3 separate regions of the Homo sapiens genome follow, and regions 1 and 3 are each linked to region 2. Evidence: promoter capture Hi-C in human tissues and cell types (Jung and others, 2019). All regions are on one chromosome and are shown on one strand. Each heading gives the region's core, a stretch centred on a gene start or on the middle of the fragment in contact. The rest is flanking DNA. Distances are from core to core; before and after follow the strand shown.

Evidence for each region. The method cuts DNA at HindIII sites, captures the fragments that hold promoters and counts their contacts. A contact is called where the count stands out against the background at its distance.
Region 1: a contact is called between a fragment that was not itself captured here and the fragment with the promoter of HOXB13 in region 2, in 2 of the 25 tissues and cell types used here (pancreas and thymus).
Region 3: a fragment that was not itself captured here is called in contact with the fragment with the promoter of HOXB13 in region 2 in 1 of the 25 tissues and cell types used here (IMR-90 fibroblasts).

The regions. Positions count from the first base shown.
Region 1 is chr17:48,216,754-48,221,514 of GRCh38, reverse strand. The region is part of intron 4 of SKAP1 (src kinase associated phosphoprotein 1); the gene reads left to right. Among named protein-coding and RNA genes, the nearest start is that of MIR1203, 63 kb to the right of the region's middle. RefSeq lists an enhancer at 1,336-2,178. The HindIII fragment of the contact is 4,962 bases long and covers 1-4,465 here.
Region 2 is chr17:48,726,503-48,730,870 of GRCh38, reverse strand. It overlaps HOXB13 (homeobox B13), which reads left to right and starts at 2,121. Exons shown (of 2, transcript NM_006361.6): 1 at 2,121-2,878; 2 at 3,828-4,368. The coding sequence starts at 2,278. The coding sequence ends at 4,081. The HindIII fragment of the contact is 5,391 bases long and covers 1-2,636 here.
Region 3 is chr17:48,244,232-48,248,434 of GRCh38, reverse strand. The region is part of intron 4 of SKAP1 (src kinase associated phosphoprotein 1); the gene reads left to right. Among named protein-coding and RNA genes, the nearest start is that of SKAP1-AS2, 48 kb to the left of the region's middle. The HindIII fragment of the contact is 4,898 bases long and covers 206-4,203 here.

The sequences.
Region 1 (4,761 bases), core at 735-3,234, 510 kb after region 2:
GCCATGCCTATGTAATTTCTCTAGGATTTTTAAAAAGTAATTCTGTAGCAAACTTTACTCAAGGAGAAACTGTTTTAGTCATTCTTCCTTTGTTTCCTAGTGTTTCAGAAGTTGACAAAGGCATTAGTTAGTAACAAACTACTTTGATAGTTTTTTGTCAACTTTTTTATTGCAATACATCATATATACAGAAAAATGCGCAAATCATAAATGTAGAACTCAATGATTTATTTATTTATTTATTTATTGAGACAGAGTCTCACTCTGTCACCCAGGCTGGAGTGCAGTGGTGCAATCTTGGCTCACTGCAACCTCCACCTCCCAGGTTCAAGCGCTTCTCCTGCCTCAGCCTCCTGAGTAGCTGGGATTACAGATGTGCATCACCATGCCCAGCTAATTTTTATATTTTTAGTAGAGACGCGGTTTCACCATATTTGTCAGTCTGGTCTGGAAGTCCTGACCTCGTTATCCGCCTGCCTTGGCCTCCGAAAGTACTGGGATTACAGGCGTGAGCCACCGTGCCCACCCTGGTGATTTTTTTTAACAAAGTGAACACACTTATGTAAGCCCTACCCACATCAAGATATAGAACATTACCAGCACCCCTAAAGCTTCTCTTTCTTTTTTTTTTCTTTTCTTTTTTTTTTTTTTTTTTTTTTTTTGAGATGGAGTCTCGCTCTGTCACCCAGGCTGGAGTGCAGTGGCGCAATCTGGGCTTATTGCAACCTCCACCTCCTGGGTTCAAGCGATTCTTGTGCCTCAGCCTCCCAAGTAGCTGGGATTACAGGCATGTGCAACCACGCCCGGCTTTTGTATTTTCAGTAGAAACAGGGTTCCACCATGTTGGCCATGCTGGTCTCAAACTCCTGACCTCAAGTGATCCTTCCACCTCAGCCTCCCAAAGTGCTGGGATTACAGGCGTGAGCCACTGCACCTGGCCTGAAACTTCTCTTTATGCCCCGTCCCAGTTATCTCCACCAAAATAACTACTATTCTGACTTCTATCACCAGATTAATTTTGCCTATACTTGAACTTCATATGAACAGATTCATACTATATATACTTTTGTGTGTCTGGACTCTTTCATTTAGCATTATATTTGTGAGGATTGTCCGTGTTTTTGCATGTAGCAAAACACATGTAGTTCCTTTGTTCTCATTACTATATAGTATTTCCTTTATTCATTTTATTTCATTCTATGGTAGGTAAACGTATGGTTTTTTTCTGCTTTGGAAATATTGTAAATAATGCTGTTGTGAACAATCTTATATCAGACTTTTGGAGCACCACTATGTTGGCATTTCTGTTTGGTATATAGCTAGGAGAGGAATTGCTGAATTAGAGGGTATGTGCGTATTCCGCTTTAGGAGATTCTACCAAACATTTTTCCAACAGACTTGTACCATTTTTACTCCCACCAACAATGTGTGAAAATTCCAGTTGCTCCTCATTCTCACTGATACTTGGTATTGTCAGTGTTTCTTAATTTTAGCAATTCTGGTGGGTGGCTGTAGTAGTTTCTTCAATTGAAATAAACCAGCTGCCTGGAGGGATTAGGTCTCTGAAAATATCCTTTTTTCCTGCTTCCATTGTACATTTGCCAGTGGATCACAGGAACATCTCCTCTGTGAGGAACAAAGTGGTAGCCTAGCCCTCATTTGCATGACTTTGAACTGTTATCTGTGGCTGCTGTAGCTTCTAGCCAGAGCAGACTGGGAGACACCGTGTGCAGCCAGATAACCTTTTCTTGTTCATTAAGGGCCCACTTAGCTCTCCATGGGGGTGCAGCAGACAGCCTAGAAAAGCAGGTAATGACTTTATGACTATATAATGCTAATTTCATCAATAATAATTCTAAGAGGAAAAAACCCAGAATTTAAATAACTGGGTTATGGTACCAACACACAAAAGTATGAAAGTCAGGTTGAGGACAGCTGTACTTGTTTTTGCAACTAACATTAACTGACATGACCCTATTCTCCATAATATGTATTCAGAGAGACTTTTAAACTGGATGCTGAAATCTAGAGGGGGAAGGGTTTAATTGCCTTGAAGTGTTTTGAAAATACTAACCAATAAACAGTCATATTAGAAATAGGCAGAACTGGTGCTTTATTTGAGGCTGGACATATAAGAGTTTCAAAAAGGTTTGTGGATGATAATTCCTCTCCTTTTGTCAGCAAGAAGTTCAAGTTCAGTGGCCAGTTTTTTTGCCAATGAGAAGTGAATAGTACAACTGACTTTTAAAATCAAATGTCACATTCCACATGGTTCCCACCTGGGTTTTAGTTTCTCAACAATGGAATACAATTTTCAATAAATCTAGAGATAAAAATTCTGCCCAAGTAACCTCATTAATATTGAGGGGACTCTTCTCTATTGGAAATCTGTGTGTTTTGTTCAAAAAATTGGAAGCAAAGAACTCTTTCAGGTTAATTCTAGAGATTCCAAAATTAAACATATACTATTAGATAAATACTAATAGGAAATTAGGTTGTTATATTTTTTCTATTTCTCTTTCTTAATCTGCCTTTCTCTTTATTCCCACTGTAAAATGTGTGCATGTTTATTCCTTTCTACTCTTCATGTTCTGATTTCACATGGCCACCCCATGAGGGTTTTTTTTTTAACAATCTGAAACCCCCAAAATATTGAATTATTATGGAAACAAGGTGCAGTATTTCAAGCATCACCCTACAATAGAAGTAACAGGATAATGATTTTCTTTCTCAGTTCAGATATTAGAGGCCCAAGTATTGATTGCCTGTTTCTTTTGCCTCCTGTGCTCTGATGAAACTACACTTTTGACACAAAGTCACAATAAAATGTGCCCTTTCCAGTATGAGATCTCTGTAAATGTCATTCACACAGTCATTGTTTTCTAATTCTTTGCATTTTCATCAGAGTAGCACACAAGCTCTTCGTTGAGTGGAGACAGAGCAAGCAGTGTTTAAATTTAGAATTCACTAGAACAACCAAGTTCCATTATTTTGCTAAGGACAGTTACAGTCTAATAATAGGACTCCTTTTCCATAGTGTTTATGAAATTATTATTCTTAGAATTGATTAAGTGATGAGGACTTTGATAACTAGAGGTTTCATGAAATGCTGTTGGGAATATTGATGTTGGGTTTGCCAGGCAAAGAGAGGTTGTAAAATCAGTGTGAATGTCAGTGTTTATGGATGAGAAGGGTTGGTTGGTAACATAAGCTGAAGCCAAGCTGGAGACCTAGAGGAAATGGCTGCTTCCCTAACCCAACTCTGCCAGCTAGTCTTCCTCCTGACCTGCAACATTCTTACTGTCTCAGCCCCAGGTCTCTGATCCTAGCTGTTAGCAAATGATTTGTGATTTTGTTTAAGGATAAATATCAGTGGTAGCCTAGCTTGAAGCCACCAAACTCATTTCATTTGTGCCCTGCACCAAATCTGATCCCAAAGGTGGCAAGCTGGCACATTAACACAATGTGATACTTAGTACCTTCCTCCTTCTCTATGAAATCAGTTTATCCAACAATATCTCATACAAATGACCTGCAAAAACAAGCCATACACAAAGCTTTCACTAACATCTTGATAAATGTAATTGGTGCACCTATGGCTTTTCAAGATGTTCCTATGCTGTGACCCTCTGTTTCACATAATGTAGCCTTTTAATTTATTTCCAATAGCTTCCCAGTCAGTCAGCACTGGCATCCTTTTTCAAACCTCAAATCATGGTCTGATAATCCATTTTGGTGCCTTTATTAGCCTCAAAGGTAGTTTGAGCTGTTAAAATTTTTTTTTAACAAATTTCTTTTGGATAAGAGATATTGCAGTGGACTCCATATAATTTTTACCTTTACCTAACCTTTTCTTATTTATTTATTTAGAGACAATATCTTCCTCTGTCACCCAAGCTGGAGTGCAGTGGCACAATCTCAGCCCACTGCAGTCTCGACCTCTTGGCTCAAGCTATCCTCTCACCTCAGCCTCCCGAGCAGCTGGGACTACAGGTGCACACCACCAGGCCAGGCTAATTTTTGTGTATTTTGTAGAAATGGGGTTTTGCCCTGTTGCCCAGGCTGGTCTCAAACACCTGAGCTCAAGCAATCCACCCATCTCGGTCTCCTGCAGTTTTTATCTGGCACCATTGCAGCTGATCCCATCTTGACAGCAATCCTACTGGAAATCTATTCAGAAACCCCTCTTCTGTTCATCTTTGCATCATCCTGTCTGGGAGATAAAGTTACCCAGGAGACCACTGAGAGGGCAGGTCTCACTCTTTTTTCTTTTTGCTTGCTTTCTATTGATTGTCCCTAGAAGAAAGGTAACTGATTTAAGGGGCCTGAAAATGATTTGGACAGACTATAAAGAAAATAAAAATGAGATCAGTATGAAGAAGTCAATACCACACACCTTTTTCAAATTTGACAAAAACATTTAAGTTCTGAAATATTTCAGGTAAAAAAATAAAATATGTGATAAGAGAGAGGCTTACCTGAGATGTACTTTAGGAAATCTGGACTTCACTTCTTTCTTATATTCCCCCTTTTCACTCTCAACACATGAAACGCTGAAAATGGAATTTTTGCTTCTTGTATTAGAAGAATTCAACATTTAAATTTCTTAGAAAGTTTTGAATCTGATACTTATAATATTTGCCAATCTGTCCATGAAAGAACATGCATTCTAGAGAATGTCTGACAAAAGAGAGGGCAAAATTTTATCTCTTATGAATATTCAGGCCAGGTGCAGTGGCTCACACCTGTAATCCCAGCACT
Region 2 (4,368 bases), core at 872-3,371:
ATAAAGGTTCATTTCTGTTGGGTTTATGCCCAGGAATGGAATTGCTGGGTCATAGGGCATGACTATGACTATTATTATTTTTTAAATTTAGGGATCTATTAATGCCTCTACTGTACAAGGATGAATAAATGTGCATGTGTGGGTGTTTGCCTAGTGGAAACTAAAACTGTGGACATGCCCTACATATCTATCATCTACCAAGTAAAAATTGGTGAAAAATTCTTAGTCTTTAGGTAAAAGTCTGGATATTTCTGCAGTTCATAATTAGACAAGCAAGAAACTCTGGTGAGAAACTGGAAAGCACTGAAGAGACATCTCCTCCCTTTTCTTCCATATTGTTTTCAAATGCGATCTAGTGAAGATTTCGTGCTTGGTGTCTTCAATTATAGCAATGCTCATTAGGAGTGATGTACACTACTGCCTGTGGGCCCTTTCCCACAAAGTGGCTCAAGTTCAAGGTCAGGTTGGTGAGAGGCTATGATTGAGTCTGCCCAGAGTTTAGGGTAAGCCATTCCATATAATTGTCAAGACCCTCGTGTAGAATGGAAACATTCCTGTCTTCTCCAGAAAAACTGGGAGTTCTAGAAAAAGCAGACAGAAGGATTTGATTTGGGAGGGGTAGTAAAGGAAGCGGAAAACCTCTAAAGACAGATTTGTGAAACAAACCGTTTGATTCTTCTGAATTGCACTGCACATTAGGCCCCAACAGAGGGGCCTCAAGCAATTCTGCCAGTGGCTGGGGTTTCCCCTTCCATTCCCTTTTCCTTGTAAGGAAGTTTAAAGCTTGCAGGAGGCAGATAGGGGTCTTGGGCTTTCTGGGTACTCAGCTTGTGTGGGAGTATGCCAGTATCAGGGACAGTTTCCTGGGCCCCTTGCAGACCATAGGGAGAGGACTGCAGGGCAGGGAGACTGGCATCTCCACACAGGCGTCTGTATTCTTGGGGTCCAGAACTCCCGCAGCTGGTTTCTGGCAGTCAGCCAGGCTTGGCTTCCTCAGACTTCTTTAGATCCCAAAAAAGGGGGAAAGTGCCTCTCTTCTTTCTCTTTTCTGACTGACACTTCAGGATTTTACAAGATTTTGTCCCATCCGCTCTGTCAGCTTCTCTCTTTCCCTCTTTGTGTTGCTGTCCCTGAGTCTCATCTCTCCCTCTCCCCGTCCCTCCCTCAAGTCCTGTGGGTCTCCGTCCCTCCGTATGTCTTTACTTAAAGGGAAATCCAGACCCTTCCACAGGCCACTCTAGAGGCTCCATTTCCCCTTCAGGTCCGGAAGTGGAGTGTCCTGGGTTCCATCCAGATCGCATGTCTTCTACGTCTACGTTCGTGTCTCCCGCCTCTTCCCTCAGCCTCACCCGAATCAGGGCCTCCAGAGCATTCTGGGCAGTAGCGAGTCCCTGGGTAAGGGGCGTCCAGGGCACCTCCCTGGGGCCCGGAGCAGCTCATTCCAGGACATCTGGGACAGGAAGGGTACCGGGAATGAACTGGGGTGCTAGTACCCAGGACCCAAAGCCAGGGGCTGCCAGAAATACCTATTAACCCCCATTTCCCAGCCTCCTCTTACACAGGCGCATTCCCGGGTTCTCCTCTGAGGCCGGGAGCGGCCTCCCAGCCCCACCCCCGACTCCCCTTCCCCCCCAGGAGATGGACACTTTATAGAGAGAGCTTTTTATTCTCTCGTTAAACCTGTCAAAGCGCAGGAGACAGAAAGCTAGGGAGGGAGAGGAGGAGAAGGAGGTGGGGCCCGGCTCCTCGTCCCCTCTTCCTCCGCCCACCACGCCTCCCCTCCCCCCGGACGTGTAAATGAGACTCTGCAAACTGGAAAGCAGCGAAAGGACACCTCCTTCCTTTTCTCTCTTGTTGTTTTTAAGTGGAATGAGAGAGAGAGGAGTGGAGAGGGAAAAGAAGAGAGAGAGGGAGAAGAGAGAGAGGAGAGAAAGAGCGAGAGAGCGAGAGAGAGAGACAGAGACAGAGAGAGAGAGAGAGAGAGAGAGAGAGAGAAAGAGAGAGAGAGAGAGAGAGAATAAGCTGGGGTAAAGTATTTTCGCAGTTTCTGCCTTTAGGATTTTATTAGCTTCTCTCCCCCAGGCCGCAGCCAATCAGCGCGCGTGCCCGGGCCCCTGCGTCTCTTGCGTCAAGACGGCCGTGCTGAGCGAATGCAGGCGACTTGCGAGCTGGGAGCGATTTAAAACGCTTTGGATTCCCCCGGCCTGGGTGGGGAGAGCGAGCTGGGTGCCCCCTAGATTCCCCGCCCCCGCACCTCATGAGCCGACCCTCGGCTCCATGGAGCCCGGCAATTATGCCACCTTGGATGGAGCCAAGGATATCGAAGGCTTGCTGGGAGCGGGAGGGGGGCGGAATCTGGTCGCCCACTCCCCTCTGACCAGCCACCCAGCGGCGCCTACGCTGATGCCTGCTGTCAACTATGCCCCCTTGGATCTGCCAGGCTCGGCGGAGCCGCCAAAGCAATGCCACCCATGCCCTGGGGTGCCCCAGGGGACGTCCCCAGCTCCCGTGCCTTATGGTTACTTTGGAGGCGGGTACTACTCCTGCCGAGTGTCCCGGAGCTCGCTGAAACCCTGTGCCCAGGCAGCCACCCTGGCCGCGTACCCCGCGGAGACTCCCACGGCCGGGGAAGAGTACCCCAGCCGCCCCACTGAGTTTGCCTTCTATCCGGGATATCCGGGAACCTACCAGCCTATGGCCAGTTACCTGGACGTGTCTGTGGTGCAGACTCTGGGTGCTCCTGGAGAACCGCGACATGACTCCCTGTTGCCTGTGGACAGTTACCAGTCTTGGGCTCTCGCTGGTGGCTGGAACAGCCAGATGTGTTGCCAGGGAGAACAGAACCCACCAGGTCCCTTTTGGAAGGCAGCATTTGCAGGTACCTCTATTACCCTGGGTCCCCTTGTCTCTGAGCCTGGGGTTGTGGGTCCCAATGGCATTTCCCTGGGAGGAGGAGGAGGGAGACTTGGAGCTGGTGAGGATGAGCTTGGTGCTCCTCCCTTGGTTATTAGGACTCTGAAGGAGGTCTGAGTAGCTGGAGGGCCTGGATGGAGGTCAGTGTGAGGGGCCTGAGCTGGGTGCTATCTGAAGCCTGAAGGCCACCTCACTTCTCCAGGAGGCCCTGGGACCAGCCTTTCAACATGTCTGAGAGGTTTAGATCTCTTTGCTGTTGAGTGGGGATCAGGGTGTCCCTACCCAGCACAATTCCAAACTAATTCTACACAAAAGCTAAATAACTCTCAATTCGGTGCGTGGGGAGTGGGTGTGGGAGATGGGTAAAAAGGTATTGGATGTACTGTAGAGAATACAACCTCTCACTTTCTATTAGATGAGTTTTCCAATTTCCAAAGAAAAATTTAGGTTTCCTGCAGCCGTGACATATGTGTGTGCACTGGGATGGGTTAATGTGTGTGTGTGTGTGTGTATGCGCATGTATTGGGAGTGGGGGCAGAAACGTGTTTCCAGAATTTGCCTGTAGAATCTAAAAGAGTGGCCAAGAGTCTGGAAATGCATGAAGACTGGACGTATGTGATGGTGGGCAAAGGCCTGACTGTGTGTGGTGTGTGGGTATGTTTGCAGATTCGCGGGTGTGAGAGCAGTGATGGGTGAGGGTGGCCTTCAGGAGCCAAGGCTGAGCGGTGGTGAGAGAACAAGCCGGAAGCCAGGGTGCTGTCCTGGTATGCTTTGGAGGAACAGGATTGCACGTGCGCCTGTAGGGTGACCTGTGTGCACCTGTGAGATGACTTAGCTTGGGGCTTGCAAGGCCTGGGTCTGCATGGGTGGGTATCTGACCATGCCTTTTCCTCCCTCCCTTTCACGCCGCGCAGACTCCAGCGGGCAGCACCCTCCTGACGCCTGCGCCTTTCGTCGCGGCCGCAAGAAACGCATTCCGTACAGCAAGGGGCAGTTGCGGGAGCTGGAGCGGGAGTATGCGGCTAACAAGTTCATCACCAAGGACAAGAGGCGCAAGATCTCGGCAGCCACCAGCCTCTCGGAGCGCCAGATTACCATCTGGTTTCAGAACCGCCGGGTCAAAGAGAAGAAGGTTCTCGCCAAGGTGAAGAACAGCGCTACCCCTTAAGAGATCTCCTTGCCTGGGTGGGAGGAGCGAAAGTGGGGGTGTCCTGGGGAGACCAGGAACCTGCCAAGCCCAGGCTGGGGCCAAGGACTCTGCTGAGAGGCCCCTAGAGACAACACCCTTCCCAGGCCACTGGCTGCTGGACTGTTCCTCAGGAGCGGCCTGGGTACCCAGTATGTGCAGGGAGACGGAACCCCATGTGACAGCCCACTCCACCAGGGTTCCCAAAGAACCTGGCCCAGTCATAATCATTCATCCTGACAGTGGCAATAATCACGATAACCAGTACT
Region 3 (4,203 bases), core at 1,405-3,904, 480 kb after region 2:
CCACTATGCCCGGCTATTTTTTGTATTTTTAGTAGAAATTGAGTTTCACCATGTTGGCCAGGCTGGTCTCGAACTGCTGATCACAGATGATCCAACCGCCTCGGCTTCCCAAAGTCCTAGGATTACAAGCATGAGCCACCTGTGCCCATCCTCCCCTATAGTTTTTCATACAGTACCGTATACAAAGAAAATAATAATTACTTGGTGAAGAATTGGCAAAAGTAAAAACTAAGAAGACTACCTGTTCCTGCGCAGGCCATCCTTGGAAGAATAAATGGGTAAAAATATAGCTAATCAGTTCTACACTATGAGGTCTGTTCATTGGCCTCTTTTATCATGACCTATTTGCCTTAATAGAAATAGTGTTGTTGATCATTCATTCATCGATTCAGAAATTTCTTGTTGAGTGCCTACAATGAAAGAATAAGATAGATGAGTTTTACATTTAAGGAGAGTAAACTTGAGGAGTTTTACATTCTACTGGGGAGACCGACAATAAAGAATTAAACCAATAAATAAAATAATTACATATTGTGATTAGTGTGATAAAGAAAATAAGCAGGTCATTGTAATAGAGATATGCCTTTCTTCTGCTTTCCTCTTTCCAGGAAATTCATGAAGAGAGATTCCAGGAAAGAAGTAGAACAGTGTTGCAAAATTAAAGTGTAGCTGTTATGCATCGAGTATGCATCTATAGTATGCGGTTTGCACTTGACACCTCCCTGCTGAGTTTACTGGGGGAAAAAGGATGAAAAAATATATATATAAACACTTTGAAAAATTAAAGGTGGTGTATGTATTGTTACTATGACTTACTATCTCCAACTGGAAAAATACACGTGAAATGATATTTAGTCAAACTTTGGTCAGCAACTAAAACTTTTGTGAGGTAGGAAAAGACGGTTACCTTTAAATCATTGAGTAAAGAAAATGAATGATAGAGGAAAAGAAATCAGAAGTATTGGATAGAAGGAAACAAATTGTATTGGGCTTAGCTTGCAAATTGCAGCCCCATAAAAGAGACAGCATAAGATATGCTGCATAGTATTGGCAGCTTCCTCTGTAACTACTACTTCTTTAGCCTCCCTGAATCCCTTTTTCTAGCTATTTGCCTTCGTTATCATGTCCATGCTTTCATGGTGCTTAGTTAATAGATGTCTAGTTGTGCTGTATACAGGTCTTCCCAATGGAATGTGACTAATAGGAAGGCAGGGTTTGGTCTCCTACTTCTTTGGTAAATTGTGTGCATACTTGGAAGTGAAATGCACACAGTGAGTACACAGAGACTTTTGTAAAGTAAGTGAATTTGTGTATATGTATTAGGTATAGTGACACTTTTCTGCAGATGTGGAGGTATTTATTTATTGTGCACTAGAATTGATGGTTCAATTCAGATAGTTGGGTTAGAGAGAACTTTTGAGACTGCGAGAGGTATGAGTCAGGGGGATGGGAAAGGTTGTTTAATTTCCTTCTTTCTAACATTCATTCATACATTAATTCAACAAATATTTACTAAATGCCTTCTGGTTAAGACTGTTCTAAGCATTCCAGGGATAGACAGAGGTGTCAAAGGCACATGAGAGATGACGTGGGAGATAAGTTATGCACCCAAGTAACTGAAATTCAAGAGGCTGTGTGATAAGTACTGTAAGTACATAGCAGCTCCAAGGAGATCAGTCAGTTTAGATTAGAGTGATGAAAAAGACCAGCAGGATTGGGTGATTAACTCTCAGAGATCTCTGCACTGTTAGGAGACCTGAAATGTGGTCCAAGCTGTAGCTTGATGTCTTTGGGCAGATCACTTAATCTCTGCATGCCTTAGTAAAAGGAGAAATTAGATCATTTAGTCTCTAAAGCTCTTCCAGCTCTAGAACTCCATGAAGAACCGTATTTGAATCAGGCTTTGAAGGATGACTATAAAAATAAAAAATAAAATAAAGCTTTATGGTTTGAATGAGAGAACCTCTGCTATGCTATGATTTTAACAGGTAGAGATAGGGGAAGATAGAAGTGAGAATAGTGAACTCCAGGGCAACGGGGCTATACCCACAAAGGTGTAGGTGTGGGGAAATGTAGAATGTGTTCAGGAAACACCAAATAGTCCGGTCTAACAAGGGTTACTTAATTGTAGGAGGATGATGAGAGGAGACAGTAAAGGTAAACCAGCCTAATTTTTGGAAACCTTTGAATGCTAGTCTGAAGTATAATATTCAGCTTAATTAAAGATTTTTAAGAATATAACCAATATCCTTTGCTTTAGATACAGTACGGATAATGAAATTACCTAAGTCTTCCATTTTATATGTGTGTTAAAATGTACAGAGCCCCTACAATGTGCCAGGCTCTGTTCTAAGTGATTTATGTATTTTAATTTATAGCAACCCGTTGAGAAAGGCATTATTATTGTAAATTTTTGTGGGTTTTTTTGTTGTTTTTTGTTATTGTTGTTGTTGTTGTTTTGAGACGGAGTCTAGCTCTGTCACCCAGGCTGGAGTACAGTGGCACAATCTTGGGTCACTGCAACCTCTGCCTTCTGGGTTCAAGCGATTATCCTGCCTCAGCCTCTTGAGTAGCTGGGATTACAGGCATGCACCACTACACTGGCTAATTTTTATATTTTTAGTAGAGACAGGGTTTCACCCTGTTGGCCAGGCTGGTCTCGAACTCCTGACCTCCAGTGATCCACCCACCTTGACCTCCCAAAGTGTTGGGATTACAGGTGTGAGCCACCGCACCCGGCCTCTTATTGTACATTTTATAGATGAGGACATTGAAGCACAGAGAGGTTAAGTAACTTTCCCAAAGTCACACAGCTAGTAAAGTGTCAGAGCTGGAATTCAAACCCATTTGTTATAACTACCATAGAAAACTTATTATAGTAAGTGCTGTCTTCATTTTTCTCTCTTTAAAGTCACATGTTATCTAGAAGCACATGTAAAAATTGAAAGATTGAGTGAAATAAGCCAGTATGGATCAGTCGTTCTAAAGCATAATAAAGGCACTTTTAAACAATCCCTGTTGGAGCAAAAGTCTACTTCTCGTAATCAACAGCAACCTGTCACTATCGTAATTTTAAAAGACTTAACTATTTTGTCAGAATGTGTTCCTTAAAATGATGCTTTTACAAAAAGAAAAAAGAAAAAAAAATCAGATTGTGGGTTGTGTTTTAGAAAGACTACAGTCATTTTTGGTTGTAATCTTATATCCCAGAAATTCAAGAGGGGCAGCTGCTCCAGCCAAGTCAAGGAGGAAGATACCTACTATTTTCCAGGTTCCTACCATTTTAGATTCTATAATTTTGGAGCTGCCAGCAGTACTTCAGGCAGATGGTTTCCCAAGTGTAAAACTGTTCCCCAGGAAGGAAAGAGAGTCAGGTTACTCCTTCCTCATGAGCCAAAATTCTGAAAGTAAAGGGGTGTGTTCTTTCTCTAACCTTTGGCCTAAGCATGACTTTGTATTGAGTTACTACTCCTAGAAATCTTCTGTTTTCATTTTCTACGATTATGGTCCAGGTTTTAGACTCAGGAACAAATGGCAAGCATCCATGCATCATTTGGAGGTTCTAGAAGAAAGAATGAAAGCCCATGACACTATTCAGCTCTTTTATTTTGTTTGGATGTAAATATAAGTTTTAACTAATTATTTGACTCATTTTCCCTGTGAACGCATCTTCTTTTAAGTGGATCTCCATGCTTTTTGCTAGGCAGTTTGGTCATTTCTTAGTCTGGCCAAACCCTTTCTTTGAGGTTTCCAAGCTTCCTTTGGAATATTATAACTGTGTATCATCAGCAGAATTTTCAGTTTTCTTTCCCCCAACTATTTGTTAATGTTTGCTGAAAGGAACCTTTAACAGGAAGTAAACTTGCTTGGCATGGCCCAGCTGTGAGTGAAGCTTGAGTGAGAGGTATTTATGACCTGACAGGAAGATAAAGATAAAGATAAAGATGAAGCTGACTTGGTGGCTGTTAGCAAGGGGAGAAGGAAATGTTTATGACCCCATCTGCTGGCGTTTCAATAGGATAGAACTGCCTTTATGGCGTCAATCTCCCCTGTGACTTCCTTCCATTTGGGGAGTGTTATCTTATTTCAAGATGTTCCCACCGAACACACTGTTGTCCCCTTTGTTTAGGGGCAAAGGAGGAAGGAAGGACTTTGTTACTGGAATGTGGGGATGGGGCAGTATTTATGGTTATGACTCAAGCT